Linked DNA regions of Homo sapiens: region 1 is linked to region 2. Evidence: promoter capture Hi-C in human tissues and cell types (Jung and others, 2019). All regions are on one chromosome and are shown on one strand. The core of a region is centred on a gene start or on the middle of the fragment in contact, and the rest is flanking DNA. Distances in the headings are between cores, read along the strand shown. Region 1 overlaps RPN2 (ribophorin II). Region 2 holds the start of TGIF2 (TGFB induced factor homeobox 2).

What was found. Contacts are between HindIII fragments. The study calls those that stand out against the background at their distance.
Region 1: a contact is called between a fragment that was not itself captured here and the fragment with the promoter of TGIF2 in region 2, in 1 of the 25 tissues and cell types used here (adrenal gland).

The regions. Positions count from the first base shown.
Region 1 is chr20:37,213,953-37,216,652 of GRCh38, reverse strand. The region is part of intron 9 of RPN2 (ribophorin II); the gene reads right to left. Among named protein-coding and RNA genes, the nearest start is that of MROH8, 36 kb to the right of the region's middle. The HindIII fragment of the contact is 9,723 bases long and covers 1-2,700 here.
Region 2 is chr20:36,572,346-36,575,045 of GRCh38, reverse strand. TGIF2 (TGFB induced factor homeobox 2) reads right to left here and starts at 1,449. Exons shown (of 3, transcript NM_021809.7): 1 at 1,301-1,449. TGIF2-RAB5IF (TGIF2-RAB5IF readthrough) reads right to left here and starts at 531. Exons shown (of 5, transcript NM_001199535.2): 1 at 411-531. DLGAP4-AS1 (DLGAP4 antisense RNA 1) reads left to right here and starts at 1,771. Exons shown (of 5, transcript NR_109939.1): 1 at 1,771-2,134. RefSeq lists silencers at 1,093-1,262, 1,333-1,422, 1,453-1,772 and an enhancer at 2,273-2,332. The HindIII fragment of the contact is 15,161 bases long and covers 1-2,700 here.

The DNA of each region.
Region 1 (2,700 bases), core at 97-2,596, 640 kb before region 2:
CTGTATCTACTAAAAATGCAAAAATTAGCCAGGTGTGGTGGCATGCACCTGTAGTCCCAGCTACTCGGGAGGCTGAGGCAGGAGAATCGCTTGAACCCCGGAGGCAGAGGCTGCAGTGAGCCAAGATGGCACCACTATACTCCAGCCTGAGTGACAGAGCGAGACTCTGTCTCAAAAACAAAAATAAAAATAAAAAAAGAAAACATTGGAGAATATCTTTTTGACTTTGGGGTAGCACAGGATTGTTTTAAAGAAGATATAAAAAACACAGTCTAGCAAAAAAACTTGTATTTTATTTATTTATTTATTTTTTTGAGACAGAGTCTGGCTCCATTGCCCAGGCTGGAGTGCGGTGGCACGATCTCAGCTCACTGCAACCTCCACCTCCCAGGTTCAAGCGATTCTCCTGCTTCAGCCTCCCGAGTAGCTGGGATTACAGGCACGTGCCACCACGCCTGGCTACTTTTTGTGTTTTTAGTAGAGATGGGGTTTCATCATGTTGGCCAGGCTAGTATTGAACTCCTGACCTCAGGTGATCCGCCTGCCTTGGCCTCCCAAAGTGCTGGGATTACAGGTGTGAGCCACCTCACCTGGCCCTAGGAAAAGACATTTAAATTAGGCTTCATTAAAATTAAATTTTGTGCTTCAAGAGATGCCATAAAGCAATTCTAGGGGAAGATATCTGATGCTCACAACTAAACATATATCACTCCTAAAAATCAGTAATAAGACTAACAAACCAAAAGAAAACCAGGCAAAGATATAAAACAATTCACTGGAAAGGAAATGTAATTGGCTAATAAATATATAAAAAGATGTTTAACTTTACCAGTAACCAAGGAAAGACATTAAAACAAGATACCTTTTCATATGCATCAGATTACTAAAACCTAAAAATACCAAATATTGGTACGAATATGGAGAATAGAGCAATTTGGTGACTGTAACAGCAAAAGACTCATGGAAAAGACAATCAGAGGTGGAATCAATAGGACTTGGTAACTGACTAGAAGGTAGAAGTGAAAAGAAAGGAAGGGGTTAAGAACTGTGAGGTATAAGCCTGGCATTTAAGATGGACTCGAAGTACAGGGAAGAAGAGGTTTCAAGAAAAAAAAAGAAAAGAAAAAAAGAACTTTCCTTTTAATATGTTCAGTTGCAAATAAGTCCTCTTAACATAGGAAACTAACATTATAAGAATGTGGATTTGAAAGGATCAAGGCATACGCTACAATAGCTTCTATCCATAGTGAACGAACTAAGATCAGATGTCTCATGCTAAAAAGGTCAACACATGAGGTGAAGAGATTCGAGTTCCAGAAAACATCTTCCTTTCTGCCAAACTTTAAATGCAAGTGTTGAATCTACCTATGGGAAGTAATGCCGCATTTTTGAAAAGGTCAAACTTTCTAGCTATTAATTCTGTCATTAAAAGAAAGCAAGTGTCACAGGAGCCAATTTGAGGAGCTCTCCAAAGGCCAAACCTAGGATAAAATGAGCAACAAGATAAATGAGTCATGGACCACAATGTATATAGTAAAATAAATGTCCATGATGCAATTATTGTAAACATATGAATTATAGAAAATATATTACATTATAAACATGTTATGATAAAGAATTATGATAGTTATAAATAAAATGGTATAAAACACAGTTATTTTCTTACAGCAGAATTCCAATTTTTAAAATGTAGAAGGAATGAAAGAGAAAATCACCCTTTGGCAAACACCACAGTAATAACTATTACAGACAACATCATTAGGATACTTACAGAGTCTCAAAGTACCACCCCACAAGACACTTAAATACAAGCAGAAAAACAGCAACTTTACAGCAGAGAAACCTAGCACACAATCACCTTACTCAAGTGATCAAGGTTAACATGACCTGTAATAAGACATATCGACATCATATACTTCTTGTTCTGAGTAGGGCAGAGCATTACTTTTGGGATAGAACTGCGGAAAATGCATGACCTGAACCTGATCATGAAGAAACATCAGACAAACACAAACGGAGAGACATTCTACAGATTGAGAGCCCATCCTCTTCAAGTGTCAAGGTCATGAAAGACAAAGAAACCATCTTAAATTGGAAGTAAGAAAGTAGGAAAATGTGTCACTCATCTTAAATAAACTTCTATCTAAAAAGATTACAATGAAAGCCACCATGCCAGATGGGGTAAATTTCAATTAGCTGGGAAAAATACTAAGGTGAACTACCTCTTTCCCACAAAGCATCAGGTAAATAAGGCTTTCTATCCTTAAAGCTACTTCGATCTTCAACCCAGCTAGAGTTAGCTAAACATCAACAAAGTTCATTATGAAAGATTACTGATTTTCTTTTATCCTTTACCCAAATAGCTTCATTATAGTGTTACGTATGTGTCACTTGGTGCTTTTTGTCACCTATTTGGCATCAAGCACTTTTCTAAACCCACCAAAGCCTATCACACAAAACACTTTAAGAGTTTAAGGCTCAGTGGAATTATGGGTGATTTTTATTTTTTCTACTAACTAAATTTCATGTAAGACAGTAATGCTAAATTATAATGGAAAATGAAAAACTTACAAATAAAAGAAAATTCACTATGACCAAGTTCTTGATTTACTGCCTTAGCTACTAAGTCTGTCAAACAGCAAAGACTGAATGCAGCCCTCCCTCCACATAAACACATTAGCTTGGTTGTAGAGAAAAGTC
Region 2 (2,700 bases), core at 200-2,699:
CTCCGACAGGGAAAACTCCAGGCGTCATCACACTAACAATCAGTTCTACCCTCAGTGACCTGTGGCAGCAACCCCTCGACACAACATCCCGTACACCCTCCTACAGACTCCCACGACGCCACCTGCAGCCACTCCCGCACGAACTTTCTGACAACTCCCCTAGCTGGTCCCGACACTCCCCCGGGCCGCGCACTCACGCCCGCATTCCCAGCAGTTCAGACAAAGCGCGCAACCTCCCCCGCGGCCCAGACCGAGTCGGAGCACATGGCTCCTGGGTCGGCGAGGAATCGTCCGGCGCTCGGGGCGCTTGCACCCCACAGTCCCCACACCCCGGGCCGACTCCGCGCACCAGCTCCCGCGCGGGCCCGCCATCCCGGTGGGACGGGGGCTCTGGAAGAAAGAAAACTCACGTGTCTGTCCCGGGGCAGGAAAAAGTTTGGTTCCCACCCCTACTCCGGCAGTTCGGGGCTGGCCGACTCTTCGGGGCGCGGGGACGGCGGAGCGTGCGCGCTCGGCTTTGTGCTCCGAACTGGGCCCGGAGGGGGAGGGGAGGGGAAGGGAGGGGAGGGGGCTGGGCTCCCACCTCCGCGCCGCCCCCCCCCCCCCAGCCCTGCGCCCAGACTCCATGTTGGCCGCCCCCTGCCCCGGAGACTACGCGCTTCTCCCGCGGGAGGCTTGGATCACCTTCGGCCTGCCCGAGGGTCCCGGCGCGAACAAACTTTCTCCGGGGCGCCGGCCCCACGCGCCCCGCTTCCTTGGCCAGCCTGGGAGTGACAGATGCCTCGGAGACAGACTTTCCTTTGTTCCAAAGGAAAGGGGAACTCGCGCGGGCTCCCCAGGGCCCCCCCGCTCCGGGCCCTTCCCGCGGCCCCCACCCCCAGCTGTCACTCTCGGCCGCCCCCTGTCCGGCTCGGCGGCGGGGGGGCCCTGCTGGCGGTTAGCAACGTGCACTTTTGAAACCAAACAAATCCGTCCCCCCGCGCGCTCACTCAGGTCCGGTGCAGGATCGGCCCTCTCCTGGGGTGGGATCCTATGAAGCTGGGCCCCCCACCAGGGCCCCAAGCGGGCTTCCTCCCGGGGGCTGGAACAGTCCCCCACCGGCCCCCGGAGCGCAGCGCCGTCGGGACTCACAAACACCCCCCGGGGGCCGTCGGGACTCACAAACACCCCCGAGCTCACACACCCCCTACCGCACGCGCCAGGACGACGCCCCCTCCCCGTCCGGCCGAGAAAAAGAAACTTTCCAAGTTGTCCGCGCGCCCCCACCCCCATCTGGCCCTCTGCTGCTCCCTGCACTGACTTTTCCCAGCGGCTTTCGGGTCCACGCGGCCTCCGGCTCGGCGCGGGGCGTCCCGGCGGGGAGCGGGGGGCGCCGGGGGCGCGCGCCGCGTACCTGCCCGGCCTGACACTCGGCCTGACAGCTCGCGGCTGGAAAGCACCTCGCGGCCTGACGTCAGATCCCCTCTCCTCCCCCCGCGCCCTCTGCGCCCTCCCCCACCCGCCCGGAGGGAGAAAACAAACTTTGTGCGGAGCGCGACGAGCTGCGCCCACCCCCCGCGGGGCGGGCCGTCGGCGCCGAGGGGCTTCGCCCCGCCCAGCGCGCCCGGAGGGGGCGGGGCCGCGGGCACCTTCTTCCTGCGCCCACCCCGCCCTCAGGAATGCTGCATGGCCTACCCATAGCGGCGGTGGGAGCCTCCGCCGGGGAGAGCCCGCTCGGGGGCAGGAAGTGGCCCGGCCCTCCTCGTGGAGGGCGTTTCCGGAGCGCCTACTGTGCTCCTTGCCGGGGTGGGGGTCGTTACCGAGTGGGAACTTCTGCAAATCCTGACTTTTGTCACTTCGCGCCCCGCACAAGATGTCCTGCCGGCGGTGCGATTGGTCCCGTTGCTTCGAGGGGAAACTGAGGCCACTTAGTCCGGGCACTTACCCGCAGCTAGTTAAGGACTAGGCTCTGATGGAGACGCTTGTTACGACCTCAATGGCCTGTAGAATCTGGGAGGCCGCCTCCGACCTAAGCCCAAAAAGCACATGATCGGGCTCACAGGGGGCGGCCAGAGGTGAAAACAGCCAACGCTTTACAACGACGCTGTGCGGGGCACTTCGTGTGTGTCATCCCGTCTCATCCTCGGGTGATAGGGTATGTGTTGTCCTATGTAAGTCTCTGGCTTACTCATGAGCCGCAGAGAGGTTCTTGATTTGCTTTTGTCACACAGTCAACCGGTATCATTCAGCCCAGGTCGGTCGATAGTGAAGCCTGATCCCTTACCCCTTGTGCCCGGCCTTAAACGATCAGTCCAGGAGCTCCCGGAGTTCCTGTCTGGTTTCTTTTTCCTCTTCTGCCAGTTACACCCTACTCCAGAAGGTTTTCCTTGGCCTCCCCCACCCCAGTCAGTACATTCTTCCCTGCTCTCTGCTGTGGGTACCACATACTGTGATATTTCTGTTAACCAGCCTCTTAGGGCATCCCCCCACGCCCCCCAGCCCTGTACCCGGACACGGCTAGGTCCAGATATCTAGGGCCCTTGAGCTTGGAAATCGCTTTGAAAACAGCTTTTGGACTTAATTACCCTTTAGCAATGGAGAACTCTAGGAACAAAACTCTTAATTTTTTCCAAACAAGCCTTAAGCCAATCAGAATGCTGATTAAAGATTGTTAAGGTTTCACCTGGACACCCCATAGAAGCCAGACTTCCTGCAAATGTT